Regions from separate parts of the Homo sapiens genome. Here regions 1, 3, 4, 5 and 6 are each linked to region 2. Evidence: promoter capture Hi-C in 16 types of primary human blood cells and fetal thymus (Javierre and others, 2016). All regions are on one chromosome and are shown on one strand. The core of a region is centred on a gene start or on the middle of the fragment in contact, and the rest is flanking DNA. Distances in the headings are between cores, read along the strand shown. Region 1 overlaps PTPN23 (protein tyrosine phosphatase non-receptor type 23). Region 2 holds the start of DHX30 (DExH-box helicase 30). Region 3 overlaps CDC25A (cell division cycle 25A). Region 4 overlaps CDC25A (cell division cycle 25A). Region 5 holds the start of SCAP (SREBF chaperone). Region 6 has its middle 29 kb from the start of ELP6.

Region 1 (2,700 bases), core at 154-2,653, 400 kb after region 2:
AAAGGCCGGACGCAGTGGCTCACGCCTGTAATCCCAGCAGTTTGGGAGGCCGAGGCAGGCGGATCACGAGGTCAGGAGATCAAGACCACCCTGGCTAACAAGGTGAAACCCTGTCTCTACTAAAAATACAAAAATTAGCCAGGCATGGTGACGGGCACCTGTAGTCCCAGCTACTTGGGAGGCTGAGGCAGAAGAATGGCGTGAACCCGGGAGGCGGAGCTTGCAGTAAGCCGAGATTGCGCCACTGCACTCCAGCCTGGGCAACAGAGTGAGACTCCATCTCAAAAAATAAAATAATAAAACAAAATAAATAAAATAAAATAAAATAAAAGCCGGGTGCTGTGGCTCACACCTATAATCCCAGCACTTTGGGAGGCCAAGGCGGGTGGATCACCTGAGGTTGAGAGTTTGAGACCAGTCTGGCCAACATGGAGAAACCCTGTCTCTACTAAAAATACAAAATATAGCTGGGCGTGATGGCGAGTGCCTGTAATCCCAGCTACTCGGGAGGCTGAGGCAGGAGAATCGCTTGAACCCTGGAGGCAGAGGTTGTGGTGAGCCGAGGTTGTGCCATTGCACTCCACCCTGGGCAATAGGAGTGAAACTCTGTGTCAAAAATAAATAAATAATAAAATAAAATTTGTCTTGTACTTCCTAAAACCATCTTTGGGAAACAATGGAAGCAGTCTCCCCTCCAGATCCAAGAGATCACCTGTACCCTTTAATCCACCCAAGAATGCAGCCCCCTGTGGTTCTAGCCTGGTCTGTCAGACTCTCAGACGAGCTGCGCAGAGCCGCACAGAGGAGTCTGAGAGAGAGCTTGATGCTGTGATGCCCCCATAGCATCCCCTGCACCTGTCAGTTTTATTCCCTGTAATCACAGAGCCAAGAATTTATTTCAGAGTTTAAAAAGGAAAGTCTTCCTAGAAACAACTATTCAAACCCTGGTTTTACAGATGAGGAAACTGAGGCTCAGATCAGGGAAAGAGGACTGCCTAAAGCTTCCAATAACTTTTTCACTGAAAGATTATTATCAACGTCCTATGTAAGAAAATTTGTTCTGGGGTTTCACAAGTATAAGGAACAGTGATCTAGACTAGGCGTGGTGACTCACGCCTGTAATCCCAGCATTTTCGGAGGCTGAGGCAGAGGATTGCTTGAGGCCAGTAGTTTAAGACCAGCCTGGGGAATATACGAGACTCCATGTCTACAAAAAATACAAAAATTAGCCAGGCATGGTGGTGCATACTTGTCCCAGGTACTCAGGAGGCTGAGGTAGGAGGATCGCTTGAATCCAGGAGGCAGACGTTGCAATGAGCCAAGATAGACTGCACCCCAGCCTGGGTGACAGAGTGAGACTCTGTCTTTAAAAACAAAAACAAAAAAAACAGTGATCTAGTCCAACTCCCACATTGCTGGGATAAATTAAACCAAGTCCCAGGAAGGGGAAGTGGCTACCCCAGATGGCCATGTGTGAGCTTTTTTCGCACTGGAAAAGCACAGGTCTGAAGGCTGCTGGCTCACAGCTCTCTCAGGGGCTGCTCTACCCAGCCCATTGCTCTGTGCAGGTTGCCTGCCTTATGCTTTGGAGGATATGTCTCAGAGGATGCTTTGGAGATTGGTGGTAATGCTCCTTCTAGGGTGTGTTGCGTCCTTGTGTGTAGTGTGTGCCTGTGTGTGCAAAATGACGGTTGCCCCAGGGGCTAAGATTATCTCACTAGTTTTCAAACTTTGTTCAAATAAACCCTTTTTAAAGATTCAACTTATGAGGAGGGTTCTGAGAAGACAGCATAAGAAGAAGCTTGGTCTCCCCACCAAGACAAGCTGCACTGGCAGAATCTGACTTAACTCTGGAGTCTATTAAAGGCTTGCAACTTCTAGGCAAAGGCTTTGACAGTACAGCTCACTGCCATTAATTTTGGTCAATTTCAGCCCCTACCATAGTAGCAGCCACCCATCCCCCACCCCCAGCACCAGTTCCAGGAGCAGCTTGTGGGAGCCAGCATGGACAAAAAGGACTCTGTCCTCCAAATACAGGAGATCTTGCTGATTGCTGCTTCTGATCACAGAGGTACAGAGAAAGAGGCAGCTCCTCCACTATTGCACCTCCCTCCACGGCTGTAAGCTTCTTCACCTCTAGCTGAAGGAACTTCCAAGGGATCTAAAGGCCTGGCATCTTTTCCCTTCTTCATTTTTCTCTTTTTCCTCCTTTGGGAGGCAGACACTAAAGAGTAAGATGTTCAAAAGCAACCACATATATAGGGCAAATGAGAAAGTCTGCACATGTGCAGGGAATGGTACAGGCTCAGAAAAGACCTGTGAAGACCTTAAGTTTACAAGGCCGGGTGCTGCGGCTCATGCCTTTAATCCCAACACTTTGGGAGGCTGGGGCCAGAAGATCACTTGAGCCCAGGAGTTTGAGACCAGCCTGGGCAACACAGGGGAACCCCATCTCTACAAAAAATTTAAAAATTGGCTGGATGCGGTGGTGTGCACTTGTAGTCCCAGCTACTTGGGGGCTGCAGTGGGAGGATGGTTTGAACTGGGGAGATGGAGGCTGCAGTGAGCCGTGATTGTGCCACTGCACTCCTGCCTGGACGACAGAGCGAAACCCTGTCTCGGGAAAAAAAAAAAAAAAACTTTAAGTTTACATTTCAGGCTGATTCTTGGCACAGGGGTAGCCTACAACAATCAAAAACA
Region 2 (2,700 bases), core at 166-2,665:
AAGGAGTTTCGCTCTTGTTGCCCAGGCTGGGGTGAAATGGCGCGATCTTGGCTCACTGCAACCTCGGCCTCCTGGGTTCAAGCAATTCTCTTGCCTCAGCCTCCCAAGTAGCTAGGGTTACAGGCGCACGCCACCATGCCCGGCTAATTTTTGTATTTTTAGTAGAAACGAGGTCTAGCCATGTTGGCCAGGCTGGTCTCAAACTTCTGACCTCAGGTGATCCACCCGCCTCGGCCTCCCAAAGTGCTGGGATTACAGGCGTGAGACACCGCTCCCGGCCCTAATAAAACTTTGTATCACAGCTACATAAATTAAAACACTTGAAGAGCAACTATCTTTTAGGGATAAAGAGCCAACACCGGTAGAAAACGCAGCAAAGGATGTAGTTTCTGCACATCGCCTTAAATCTCTAAGATTTAAGTGTAAATTACAAGATGTAGTTAAAACCCACAATGACAGTGGGGTTACCACCTTGCAAGAAACTTCAAGGGAAATCACCAGACAACGTCTCATTTCACTCTGGCCCATAAGCTGCAACTAAAACCAGGTTGAAAGCCTGTAAGTGGCCTTCTGCAGTCTACCTGCTAGTGTATGGCAAACCCTCATGGAGTGGGGTTGTAAAGTGAAACAGCCTCTGCCTTGAAAAATCATAATTCAAGTGACCAATGTTGCTACACAACGACTAGATATGCCATATCCCTGGCTTAGGGTTTCTGAGGACCCCTGGGACTCCAGTTCACTGCAAACAAAGGACCCAACATGCATTTGGTCTTCCCCTGCTAAATGGGACAAGTTACCACCAGCAAACAAAGAATACCTCACCCCTTGGCCTCCCCCAGTGACAAGGTCGGTGCAAAAGGGGGCAAACTAGGGGGGCCAGAAGGCACCGGGCCTCCCTCTGGACGAACGGTCCGGGCAGCACCGGGAAGGAGGAGAAGTAGACAAAGGTCTCGGGGCACTCAGGAGGCTTCCTCCAGGCCCTGCCTGGGGAAACGGCGCATCCCGAGGCGAAGGCGTCGTTGCGCCAATGAAGCGGCCTCTCCCACGGCCTCCGCGGAGCCCCTGGCTGCGAGGCCCGCCCCGGCGGACCGGTCTGGCCCCCGCCCCCGCCCGGGCTCCATGGCAACGGCAGGCCGAGGCCTGGCTGCCCACGGATCGGCCGGGCCGGCTTCCCGGGCAGGCCTAGGATGCCCGGCCTGCTCCTCGGGCCCGCCGGCGTCTCCGCCCCACTCTCCGCCAGGCTGGCGGTCGGACCGGGCCCCCTCCTCACGACGACCACCCCCGGCCGCGGCAGGCTCCTCAAGAGGGCACGAAAGGGGAGAATAAAAAGCCCAATTCACCTGTTGTTACAGATGTGAAACAAGCCTCTGTGCACCGCGCATGAGCCGCGGCTCCCCCAACCACGGCCGGACTACAACTCCCAGCAGCGGCGGCGCGGCCCCTTCCGAGTCCCGTGGCGGAAGTCCCGCCACCGGCCCGGCGTTCCCCACCCGGCGTCACGGAGCCCGCCTGCGGCGCACGGCTCCGCTCCCCCGCGGGCCTGGAGCCCGGCCCCACCTGGGACTCGTCGTAGCCGCTCGGGGCACCCAGCGCCCGGGATGCCCCAGCACCCGGCCCAATGGGGCGCGGCGGCGGTGCAGGCGGGACTTCCGGCGGAGTCGCGAAGGGGACGGGTTGGCGCCGGCTGCTCTGGGGTCGCAGAGCGAGCGGGTTTGGGTGGCGGGGTCGGGCGTCAAGTTGCTGCCTTTCTCGGCGACTTAGCTGCCTGCAGTGTGAAAGCGGGAAGGGTCTTCTCGCCCTCTGCGAGCCACCCGCGCCTCCTGATGCGAATAAACAGCCCGGGTCATGGCTGAGCGGGGAACGGTTTCCAGCTCGGGCTCCGGGATTCCACCCGCCTTCCCCGCCACAGCTCGTAGCCACGCCTCTTCTCTTCCCCATCTCCCCTCTAATCTGTTTTTTTAGGGAGGTGAGCATTTTTGTCTTGTCTCCCCAGTTTGCAGGGAAGATGAAATCAACGTGTTGGTTCGTTGATTTCGTAAACTGTACAACGTTAGGCAAAGGACAAGGTGGCACTTGCTGGTCGCGGGGAGAGTGCCAGTCATAGTTGCTGGAAATCTGGAGGTCCGCCCGGCCACATCACCTCTTAGGAATGAGAAAGGGGATTGTCCCAATTACACGCTGTAGTCCTCTAGATAAGGTTCAAGTATAGGTTCAGTGGAATTCAGCTTCAAAAGGAAACAACGCAGTGGCGTAGCTCTGAAGCTGGGTCAGGATTTTACAGAGTATGGTTTTAAGATGTGGCCTTTAGGCCGGGCGTGGTGGCTCACGCCTGTAATCCCAGCACTTTGGGAGGCCAAGGCGGGTGGATCACCTGCGGTCAGGAGTTCAAAACCAGCCTGGCCAACATGGTGAAACCCCGTCTCAACTAAAAATGCAAAAAAATTAGCTGGGCGTGGTGGCGGGCGCATATAATCCTAGCTACTTCGGGAGGCTGAGGCAGGAGAATCACTTGAACCCGGGAGGCGGATGTTGCAGTAAGCCGAGATCGTGTCATTGAACTCCAGCCTGGGCGACAAGAATGAAACTTAAAAAAAAAAAAAAAAAAAGATGTGACCTTTGAGGCTGTATGAAGAATTAGTGCCATATCCCGTCACTTTTGTGTGCAAACAGTTCAACATGTATCTCTTTTCTTTCTCTCTA
Region 3 (2,700 bases), core at 178-2,677, 360 kb before region 2:
TGCCAAATGGTCTACTGGGCTATTCAGCTAGAAGAACTGCAAAAATCACAAACTGGTCTTGTGGACTTAAAGATCACTCTTGATGAATCATTACATCTTGCTGAATCATTACTTCATGTGTGAAACGTGCAGGTTCCAAGGGTCTCTGTTGTCTTCACAGGGTGCAGTGAACTTGCACATGGAAGAAGAGGTTGAAGACTTCTTATTGAAGAAGCCCATTGTACCTACTGATGGCAAGCGTGTCATTGTTGTGTTTCACTGCGAGTTTTCTTCTGAGAGAGGTCCCCGCATGTGAGTGCTGCACGGAACTGGGTTCTGGGGCACAGGCTCCATGATGCTTTTGTGGGACATGGTGGTTTGTGGCTTGCACTTGGAGCATATTTTAGCATATCAAGCAACCTCTGGCACATAACAAGCCATTTTCATATGTAATTTTATCCTGAGGTGAACTTTGGCTCTTCCAGTCTCCCCGACTGTCCTTAGTCTGATCTGTGGGGCTACTGTTCTCATGTGACCTCCTTCAAGTACAAAGTGACCGTTCCTTATGCAAATGCCAGAAAAGTGTGAAGTTCTCATTCTGTAAAACCTCATATGATATGATGCTTTGAAACACTTGATATTATTACCAATTTCAGGGTGAAAAGAAAAAAGGGGGCCAAAGAGCTGCCCATCAGTCATCTGTGTCCATTCTAAAAGGATTGCAAGCCTGCTGTTTGTCAGGCACTGACAATAAAAATGTAACTACAGTAAAACACAGTACAGTAAAAATACCACAGCGAGCAGGACCAACAAGGACCCTACTGCAGCAGAGATCCAAGTGGGGATCCGTATAAATGCTAGGAGGACAGGCAGAGAGGTAGGACAGAGAGTGCAGCTTAACTAGGATGGTCCAAGGGAGACTTCTGCAGGACCACGTTCTTATGCCACCTTTTTATTTTGAACCAATTTATTTTAAAAAACATTTTTAAATTAAAAAATTTCAATTTTTTTTTTTTGACGGAGTTTTGCTCTTGTTGCCCAGGCTGGAGTGCAGTGGCACAATCTCTTCTCACTGCAACCTCTGCCTCCCAGGTTCAAGCAGTTCTCCTGCCTCAGCCTCCCAAGTAGCTGGGATTACAGGCATGCGCCATCACGCCCGGCTAATTTTGTATTTTTAGTAGAGGCAGGGTTTCTACATGTTGGTCAGGCTGGTCTTGAACTCCCGACCTTAGGTGATCCGCCTGCCTCAGCCTCCCAAAGTAGTGGGATTACAGGCGTGAGCCACTGCACCTGGCTTTTTCTTTCTTTCTTTCTTTCTTTTTTTTTTTTTTTTTTGAGGCGGAGGCACACTGTTTTCACCCAGACTGGAATGCAGTGGCATGATCTCGGCTCACTGCAACCTCCACCTCCTGGGTTCAAGCGATTCTCCTGCCTCAGCCTCCTGAGTAGCTGGGATAACAGGCGTGCACCACCACACCCGGCTAATTTTTGTATTTGTAGTAGAGATGGGGGTTTCACCATGTTGGCCGGGCTGGTCTTGAACTCCTGACCTCAGGTGATCCACCCGCCTTGACCTCCCAAAGTGCTGGGATTACAGGTGTGAGCCACCACGCCCAGCAGAAATTTCAAATTTTGAGATGGGGTCTTAATATATTGGCCAGGTTGGTCTCAAACTCCTGGCCTCAAGCAATCCTCTCTCCTTGGCCTCCAAAGTGCTAGGATTGCAGGCATGAGCCACTGTGCCCACCCCTTTGAACCTTTTTTTTTTTTTGAGACGGAGTCTCGCTCTGTCACCCAGGCTGGAGTGCAGTGGCACAATCTCGACTTACTGCAAGCTCCGCCTCCTGGGTTCATGCCATTCTCCTGCCTCAGCCTCCCGAGTAGCTGGGACTACAGGTGCCCACCATCACGCCTGGCTAATTTTTTTGTATTTTTAGTAGAGACAGGGTTTCACCATTTTAGCCAGGATGGTCTCCATCTCCTGACCTTGCGATCTGCCCGTCTCGGCCTCCCAAAGTGCTTGGATTACAGGCGTGAGCCACTGCGCCTGACCTGAACCATTTTAAAGCTCAAGAAGAGGTGAGGTTATGGCTGGGCACAGTGGCACCTGTAATCCCAACACTTTGGGAGGCCGAGGCAGGAGGATCACTTGCTCGGGAGTTTCAGACCAGACCAACCTGGGTAACACAGTGGGACCACACCTCTACAAAAAATAGGAGGTGGGAGGATCGTTTGAGCCCAGCAGGTCGAGGCTGTGGTGAGCCATGATCATGCCACTGTACTCCAGCCTAGGTGACAGAGTGAGATTCTGTCTCTCTCTCACACACACACACACACACACACACACACACAAAGGTTATACTTGCACACACTTCACCTGATTTTATTAATTTTTAACATTTTGTCACATTTGTATGTACATGCTCTACACACAGGCAACTACAGTACAACTTGACACTTTTGACTGTCATCTCATAAGTCCTTCAAACATCTGTCTCCAAAGGATGCTCATTCATGAATGGAATTATTCACTCAGCAGTTTTTTTGTTTGTTTGTTTGAGATGTAGTCTTGCTCTGCCACCCAGACTGGAGTGCAGTGGTGCGATCTCGGATCACTGCAACCTCCACCTCCCGGGTTCAAGCAATTCTCCTGCCTCAGGCTCCCAAGTAGCTGGGACTACGGGTGCATGCCACCATGCCAAGCTAATGTTTGTATTTTTA
Region 4 (2,707 bases), core at 176-2,675, 380 kb before region 2:
CACCGCGCCCGGTGATAAACATTATTGAGAACAATACAAAGGAGCCCTTGTGGCTGTTTATGAAGAAAGGAAATAGGTTTCAAATGTCTATAAGGAGGTGGTGTGTGCTTGCCCTTGAAGGATGGGTAGTAAAGTATAATTCACCATACCACTGTAAGTGGCATTCAGGCAATCTTACTGGTTAAAATACAGGATCAAATGATTGGAAGTACAGTGTCATGAAATCATTTCAGTGATGCTGCTATGGAGGAAATTGCCAGTGCATTTCATTCTTCATGAATTCATATTACTGCAGAGTTTATCTGTATTTGTACAGATAAGACCATTGGTGCAAAGATCCTTTAGGTTAAAGGAACTGCAAGAGCAAGTCTTAAAATGTAATGTAGGCTTCTGTATGTAGAATGTAATTTAATATAGAACTGGGGATAGGATTATCACTTGTAGCAGTGTGGTGAGCAAGGGCTGTAACACCTCACTTTCCATAAGGCTGTATAGACACATGAGCTATGGGTGGGTGGGTCTGCGTCATCTGAGCTGGCATATTAGTAATGCTGAACAGTGTCTCCTTCACCCTGCTGCCTTTTGTGAGATGGACACCTTGGTGTCATTTTGTTAAAGGCAGCAAGTGCTTGCCTTGCATGTCATGACCAGTAGTTGTATTTTTCTTTTTCATTTTGAGACAAGGTCTCAACTCTGTCACCCAGGCAACTCTGCCTCCCAGATTTAGAGAATTCTTCTGCCTCAGCTTCCCTAGTAGCTGGAATTACAGGTGTGGGTCTCAAACTTCTGATCTCAGGTGATCCACCCACTTCGACCTCCCAAAGTGCTGAGATTACAGGGGTGAGCTACTGCACCTGGCCTTTTTTTTTTTTTTTTTTTGAGACAGGGTCTTGCTCTGTTTTCCAGGTCTCAGGCTGGTGTACAGTGGCACAATCAGGGTTCACTGTAGCTTCAACTTTCCGAGCTCAAGCGAACCTCCCACTCCAGCCTCCCCAAGTAGCTGGGACTACAGACACGTGCCACCACACCCAACTAATTTTTTTTTTAACTTTGGTAGAGTCAAGTCTCACTATGTTGCCCCAGGCTTGTTTTGAACTTGTGGCCTCAAGCCATCAGCCTGCCTCAGCCTCCCAAAGTATTGGAATCACAGGTGTGAGCCACTGTGCCTGGTCAGTAGTTGTATTTTTCAAGCCTCATATGATTTGACAAGGTAAAACGTTTAAAAACTATGCCAAGAAAATCTGGTACCTATTGTTTCTATGGTTGGAACTCACAGAAAGTTATCTGGGTCACCTCTATCTGAATAACCAAACAATCATGATATGAATCAGTTTTATTCACCCTCTTCTCAAATCCTATTTCCCTTGATGTTATTTGCAAATAGGAGAAAAAACAGTAAATACGCTATGAAAATATTAAGACTTGTACAAACATGACATTTTTGACAATCTAATAGACGTAACATCAATTCTGGCAAAAGTACAAGCCATGAATATTTGTTGCCTGACTTAAATAAAGACCCAGGTACTTTGTTTAGTGTTTTAATTTTAATGACAAAATGGTGTTTTTTGTATTATTTCTTGAGAGGTTTTTTTTTTCCCCATAGGTTTCTGTCTAGATTCTCCTGGGCCATTGGACAGTAAAGAAAAGTATGTATTCACTGCTTTCAAATGTTTATATGTAGAAAAAACGTGTCTAAACTTAAATACCTTATTTAAATGAAGTTCTTCATACACTGGACTGGAGCCCTGGATTTACCTGTGCCTAGAAACACTCTGGAATCTCAAGAATGAATAGTTTGTGTCAGCAATTTTCAGAACTTTTTCTCCTTTATTTTAGCTATAATTTTGGTGTTCTGTTTGGGTCTTACCCAAACCCTTACTCTGTGCTCTGACATCATAGCCTTACAAGAACATGTGGGGTTTTTTTGTTTGTTTGTTTGTTTGTTTCTGAGGCAGAGTCTCACTCTGCCGCCCAGGCTAGAGTGCAGTGGCTCACTGCAACCTCCACCTCCCAGGTTCAACTGATTCTCCTGCCTCAGCCTCCCGAGTAGCTGGGACTACAGGAGTGCACCACCACACCCGGTTAATTTTTGTATTTTTAGTAGACACGAGGTTTCATCGTGTTGGCCAGGCCAGGAGTTCGAGACTCCTGACCTCGTGATATACCCTCCTCGGCCTCCCATAGTGCCCATAGTGCTGGGATTACATGTGTGAGCCACCGCGCCCAGCCGAATGTGTGTATTTTAAGAAAAGACATGGGTTTGTTTTTTTTCACCTAGAAGTCTAGTGTTGGGGGTGCTCCTGAGAACAGGACAGCTTCAGAAATTTATTCTCCCATCTCTTGCCTAAAATGGGAGTCTGTGACTGTACCCCCAAGCTACAGGCTAAACACTATCTCTCTGCTAATATGAATACCTCTTTACTTGTTTTATTCTCATTATTTACCTTCTGATCTCATTACAGCCTTGAAAATCCTATGAGAAGAATACATTCCCTACCTGTAAGTTAGTTCCTTGTTTATTTTGAGCTAATACCTGTTATCTGTTCCTTAGCTACCAGCATGACCTTGATAGGAGACTTAATTTAGAGAGTAAAAACTGCTTTTCTTTAGTCTCTTTTGAGACAAGGTCTTGCTCTGTCACCCAGGCTGGAGTGCAGTGGCAAAATCTTGGCTCACTGCAACCTCTGCTTCCCTGGCTCAAGTG
Region 5 (2,700 bases), core at 56-2,555, 330 kb after region 2:
ATTAAGCCAAAAGACAATGCTGAAAATGTCATAACCCTGAAAGTCACTTTGGGCCAAGGCCCACTGTCCCCATTGTTACTTTCATTGTGACAATAGTGTGGTGGGCAAGGAGGGAGGCCAGAGTCCGGTGGGAACTGGGTTTTAGGAGGAGGTATCTGAAGAATGTGTAGTGGGTCGGGGGCTGGTGCGGTCAGAAGGGCCACCTCTAATTTCTGCCTTGCATTGGTGACTAGATCTGCACTTTCTGGAACTCCCAGAGAAGTTTGCTGGTGCCTTTGAGGGCAGGTACAGGGCCTGCCTTATCCAGGTAGCCCTGGGGTGGGTGCGGGTGTCTCGGGCAGTAGGCAGGGGCTGAGGGGAGGCTTACCTCTGACACAAGACCTGGGTACAGCAAGGGCATGCAGTAGCATGATCAAAGTCCCCCCAGAGTGGTCCGGGCAGCGTCTCTAGTTGGGCCAGAGCTGGGCAGGTGGGGACCTGTGTTTCCCTCGAGGGGAGGCAGCCTCCCCTTCCCCTTCTGTGAGGCCCTGTAACAAGACCTACCTCGGATTTTCAGGAGGGCCAAATGCGAGGACATGTACAATACCAGCTCCGCAACTGACACCTAGTAAACAGTGAACGTAGCTGTTGCTATTATAACAAATACCTGTTCCCTGTGGAAAATGGTTAAATGTCAACTTATGCTTTTAAATGTCTATAGGGAAACTAGTTTTATGGACATTATTTATTCTTCTCATCTGCATTTGCAGTGTATCTCGGCCCAGCTGCTTCTAATTTTTTGCCATTATAAAACAGGGAACATGAGCATCTTGTGCAGGGTGGGTTTTTTGTTTTTTGTCTCACTGTGGCCTCGACCTCCCGGGCTCAGGTGATCCTCCTACCTCAGCCTCCTGAGTAGCTGGGACCACAGGTGCGCGCCACCACAGCCGGCTAATTAATTTTACTTGTGGAGACGGAGGTCTCCTACGTTGCCCAAGTTGGTCTCTAACTCCTCGGCTCAAGCGATCTTCGCGCCTTGGACTCCCACAGTGTTGGGATTACAACCGCGAGCCACCGTGCCCGGCTTTCTGCAAGTTCTTGATGACCGATGAGAGCCGGTGGGCCCAAACCCGGCGGGCCCTAACCCGGCTTCACGCTCCGCCCGGCCCGGCCCGGCCCGGCCGTCCATACTTCCCTCCGGTGTCCACCAGAGGGCGAACGGGAGACGCGAATGTGGTTCGACTACGCATGCGCACGCCGCTGGGCGCACGTGCGGAGGGCGGCGGGGCGGGAGGGTAAAGGTAGGAGGTGAGAGGTGAAGGGGCGGGCACCCGGCGGCCAGGAGAGAGAGGGAGGGCGCCACGCACCGGACTGCGGGCCGAGAGCGCGCACGCCGCGCTCCGCCCCTGCTGCCGCCCCCGTCGCCGCCGCCGCCGCCGCCGCAGCTTGGGAGGTGCTGCCACCACAGGTACCGTCACGCGGGTGCTCAGGGCGCCTGCCCGCGGGCCCCAGCTCGACCCCAGCCGCGTGGAGCTGGGAGTTCCGGAATGGGGGCCGCTAGGTTCGGGGGTGCGTGGGCATGGCGCTGTCCAGCAGCCGTGCGGGCCGGCCCTGGAGACCGCAGGCCGGCAAGGAGGCAGGGCCGCGCGTCCCCACCCCCAACCCGGCCGTGTCCCTGCACCGGCCGGCCCCTGGAGCTCCGCGTCCCCACCAGACCTCCGCGGGCCCCTGGTGTGACGGGGGGAGATGCGCGGCGTCGCATCCCCTGGCCTAGTTGCTCCGGGAAGCTGTTGTAGAACCTGCTTTGGTGCTGTTTGGGTTTTCCGGAGTGCGGGGGAGAGCAGGTTCTCCACTTTGCCTCTTTTGGAAGATCTTATTGAGAGACAACGCTAGTTGCTTTGCTGGTTTTGCTTGGTTTCTAGTTTTCCGTATTGCTTAAACCTCAACTTTGCTCACTAATGTTGCTTCTGTTTACTTCTGAGTGGGTTTATGACCTCAGTATTTAACCGGCTTATAATGTCACGATAGCGTTAGTTGCAGGGAGCCCTGGCTCCGGACTGTTTGAATCACAGAAAGTTGTGCAGATGGGAATGCGGAGGGGGGGGCAGTGAGTCGCTGTGGGGGCTCTGGCAGGGGTCAGCCCCTGGTTCGGGTCACTCACTGCTCCACCTTGTATGGCGACAGTCGGAGCTAGGTGAATAAACTCTTTCTGGGGATTTTGTAATACTTATCGTGAAGCGGCCATAGAAAAGGTTTAATGTTAGCGTTGCGTGTGTTTCTTTTATTTGGCCAAAAATTTGTGGAGTTTGGTTATGCCGTGTCTTTATTGGTTTGCTGTCAGGTCAGGATATTGAGCAAAAGACTGACGCTTTTATTAGGGAGTCAGGGTCGAGGGTGTCTAGTTAGTGCTGTATCCATTTTAGGTGTTCCTCAGTGATGCCTAAAGACTTGTTTTTTGTTTGTTTGTTTGGAGACAGGGTCTCACTCTGTCTCCCAGGCTGGAGTGCAGTGGCGCGATCTCGGCTCACTGCAGCCTTGATTTCCTGGGCTCAGGTGATCCTCCCACCTCAGCCTCCCCAGTAGCTGGGACAGCAGGTGTGTGCCACCACGCCCGGCTAATTTTTGTATTTTTTTGTAGAGATGGGGGTCTTGCTGTGTTGCCCAGGCTGGTCTTTAACTCCTGGGCTCAAGCATTATACAAGCCTTGGCCTCCCAAAGTGT
Region 6 (2,700 bases), core at 168-2,667, 260 kb after region 2:
ATTAGCTGGGTGTGATGGTAGGCACCTGTAATCCCAGCTACTCGGGAGGCTGAGGCAGGAGAATCACTTGAACCTGGGAGGTGGAGGTTGCAGTGAGCTGAGATCGTGCCACTGCACTCCAGCCTGGGTTACAGAGCGAGACTCCGTCTCAAAACAAACAAACAAACAAATGAAAAACAATATTTCTGTGATGTTTACTATATGCCAGGTAGTGTTTGAAGTGCTTTACATATATTAACTCCTTTAATTCTTAGAGCTATCCTGTGTGATAGATACTTTTATTATCCCACCTTACAGAGGAGGAGGCCCAGGCACAGAGGTTAAATAGCTTTCCGGTGGTCAGATGGTGGAGCCAGGGCTGGGCTTTGAACCCAGAGCCTTCAGCCTGTGGAGTCAGTGCCCATAACCATTCTTTGCCTCTGTGTAGTTTTTCCGCATTGGTTTACTTGCTTTCTGCCTGAGGAGTCAGAATAGAGATTTCTGAGAGCAGGGATCCTGATTGTCTTGTTCACTACCTGGTCTCAGGGCACTCAGTAGGTGGTAGTCTTTGTTGAGTGAATGGATGGATGGATGAATGAATGCATGGTAGACTCTGTTTCCTTGAGGATGGAGCAGTTTCTTGTTTGCATCGTGGCCCTGGGCTTGGAAGAGGGCTGAGCCTTCTTGGGATGTATTGATGGGGCCTGTGGAGTGAGCTGAACTCTGGATCCCTGATGCCACCCCTCTCTGAGGCCCCCGGGGAGGCCTGTGCCGAGGTCTCAGGAGCCCTCAAAAGCGTGGCCCTTTGTTTGGGTTTGCCCTCTGGTTGCCGGGTGCTCCCTCGGCCGGCTCCCTCCTCCCTTCGCTGCAGAAGAAAGGGAGCTGGCCCTCTTTCCCCTTGGCACTATGTGTGCTCATTGGAAGTTCCTGAGGCCAGGCCCAGTGGGCGGCCCGAGCTGCCATCGTTAATCACACAGCCTGCTGCTGCCTGCCCACGCGGCTAGCTTTGAGGGCCGGCCAGAGCCTCTGGTGGGAACCACTCGCTGCTCTAATTGGGCCTCTCCTGGGAGGCGGCAGGCCCTGATTCTCACTTGTCTTTACTCTGGTGACTGCTTGGCCCTCTCAAGGAGGACAGCACGCTTCCTGGTCCGGCCGGCTCTATGGCCAGCCAGGGCAGAAGTTCACCCTTGTTCTACAGATGGAGAAACAGAAACCCTGGGGCAGACCGGGTCCATGTCCAAGGCCACGACAAGGTTGCCAGGAGTAACCACCAGAAAGCCAAGTGCCATGGCTTTGCTCCTCACTCTGCTGGCAACTGGAATGAGTTCCCACAGGAAAAAAGACCTCCCTTTGGCTCCCCTGGCTTCCCAGGCCCTGCCAAATGCCAGACACCGGACTCTAGCTTCTGGCATTCATAGAGAACTATCCATGTGAGAACTGTCACCCACCCCAGAGACCCTGCCAACCTGCAAAAAAGTGGAGGAGAGCATGACCAGCAGGAGCACACTGCAGGCCCCTCTGACACGGAGCGGGACAAGCTGGTAACCAGGTACCCATGTGACTTCCCTGCCCTGTGCCTTGATTTACCCTTCCTGGAAAATGGAAAGAGTTTCAGATGCATAATGTCAGGGACCAGGGGAGGCTTGTCTGTGAGGGACTTGCAACATGCTTTCCCCAGGCAGACTCAGAGAGACTCTCGGGGCAGGATGAGCTTGATCATCAGCTGGCCCCAGACCTCCATCTGTGGCTGAAATCACCCCTGCAAAATTTCAAAGATCATGCACCTCGCACAGTTGGACTTCCTCCAGCAGAAAGCCCTCATGACTTCCCACCGTGCTTCACTCCCTGTTTTGTTCTTCTACCACTTCCCCACCTTCCCCACCTTTTGTTAGATGGGTCATTTTTTCAGTGAGCCCTCCTGCCTCCCTGAGTCACACTGTGGACCTAGTCTACTCTCTGAGCGCTTGGAATAAATGAGTAAGTCCTCCTTTTTCTTTCATCATCTTTCCAAGAACAAAATACAACTAGAGTGCCACTCCTGAACCTTCTCTCCTCTTGGCTGAATGTCTTTAGTCCCCTCAGCTGACCCTCACGTGACAGCTCTCCTGGCCCCTCAATGTCACAGGTGCTTTTCTTAGGACATTTGTGGGGGTTCGGAAGGGGCTGCGCTTCTCTAGGTGCTGCCTGAACTCAGAGGAGCACACATGCCTCCTTGCCCAGGCACACATGAACATTCACAGGGCAGGACTGGGGGACACACAGAGGGCCATGTCTGAAAGTTTATGAGTAATCGTACAAACTAACTATTCAATAAGCAAATCTCCACTCTGACCTTCATGATGACTTGGAATGCTAAGTTTGAATTTAGATTTCTTGGACTCCTCAGAGTTCTGTTTGAGAATGTGCTGGGGCCGGGAGAGGAGCCCTGCTGCCCCCAACCTGGTCCCTCTCCTTGTATCCCGGGCTGTACCTGTAATGCAGGGGATTTCAGGGATCCGCGTGCGGCCCCCTGAGGCCACATGTTCCCGCTTTGTTCACAATCCCTTAGCCTCCTCTCAGACCCCATCGCTAGGGGAGCAGGGGCTTGGAGCCTTTTGGGCAAGAGATTCTGGGATCCCCAGTGCCAAGCATGGTGTGTGGCCTCTGAGTGGGCATGTCCTTTGCCTCTGAGGAGCATTGCCCCACGGGGAGGATCACGGCCCTTCTTGCCCGGGTCTGAGG

What was found. Contacts are between HindIII fragments. The CHiCAGO score rates a contact against its expected background, and 5 or more counts as called.
Region 1: a fragment that was not itself captured here is called in contact with the fragment with the promoter of DHX30 in region 2 in 3 of 17 cell types (megakaryocytes, endothelial precursors and M2 macrophages); the score reaches 5.8 in megakaryocytes.
Region 3: a contact is called between a fragment that was not itself captured here and the fragment with the promoter of DHX30 in region 2, in 1 of 17 cell types (endothelial precursors). The highest score is 5.0, in endothelial precursors.
Region 4: a contact is called between a fragment that was not itself captured here and the fragment with the promoter of DHX30 in region 2, in 1 of 17 cell types (endothelial precursors). The highest score is 6.1, in endothelial precursors.
Region 5: a contact is called between the fragment with the promoter of SCAP here and the fragment with the promoter of DHX30 in region 2, in 2 of 17 cell types (endothelial precursors and neutrophils). The highest score is 6.5, in endothelial precursors.
Region 6: a fragment that was not itself captured here is called in contact with the fragment with the promoter of DHX30 in region 2 in 3 of 17 cell types (endothelial precursors, megakaryocytes and erythroblasts); the score reaches 9.4 in endothelial precursors.

The regions. Positions count from the first base shown.
Region 1 is chr3:47,398,504-47,401,203 of GRCh38, reverse strand. The region is part of intron 2 of PTPN23 (protein tyrosine phosphatase non-receptor type 23); the gene reads right to left. Among named protein-coding and RNA genes, the nearest start is that of PTPN23-DT, 18 kb to the right of the region's middle. RefSeq lists a silencer at 2,491-2,672. The HindIII fragment of the contact is 800 bases long and covers 1,004-1,803 here.
Region 2 is chr3:47,801,853-47,804,552 of GRCh38, reverse strand. DHX30 (DExH-box helicase 30) reads right to left here and starts at 1,415. Exons shown (of 22, transcript NM_138615.3): 1 at 1,341-1,415. RefSeq lists an enhancer at 745-1,270 and a silencer at 995-1,844. The HindIII fragment of the contact is 8,641 bases long and covers 1-2,700 here.
Region 3 is chr3:48,161,898-48,164,597 of GRCh38, reverse strand. CDC25A (cell division cycle 25A) reads left to right here. Exons shown (of 15, transcript NM_001789.3): 13 at 161-291. Among named protein-coding and RNA genes, the nearest start is that of CDC25A, 25 kb to the left of the region's middle. The HindIII fragment of the contact is 8,518 bases long and covers 1-2,700 here.
Region 4 is chr3:48,183,595-48,186,301 of GRCh38, reverse strand. It overlaps CDC25A (cell division cycle 25A), which reads left to right. Exons shown (of 15, transcript NM_001789.3): 3 at 1,607-1,649; 4 at 2,466-2,502. Among named protein-coding and RNA genes, the nearest start is that of CDC25A, 3.5 kb to the left of the region's middle. The HindIII fragment of the contact is 4,715 bases long and covers 1-2,707 here.
Region 5 is chr3:47,474,546-47,477,245 of GRCh38, reverse strand. SCAP (SREBF chaperone) reads left to right here and starts at 1,305. Exons shown (of 23, transcript NM_012235.4): 1 at 1,305-1,447. LOC105377073 (a long non-coding RNA gene) reads right to left here and starts at 1,301. Exons shown (of 3, transcript XR_940821.3): 1 at 882-1,301; 2 at 544-604. RefSeq lists a silencer at 1,218-1,757. The HindIII fragment of the contact is 8,042 bases long and covers 1-2,700 here.
Region 6 is chr3:47,541,153-47,543,852 of GRCh38, reverse strand. No RefSeq gene overlaps it. Among named protein-coding and RNA genes, the nearest start is that of ELP6, 29 kb to the right of the region's middle. RefSeq lists an enhancer at 408-908. The HindIII fragment of the contact is 3,910 bases long and covers 1-2,700 here.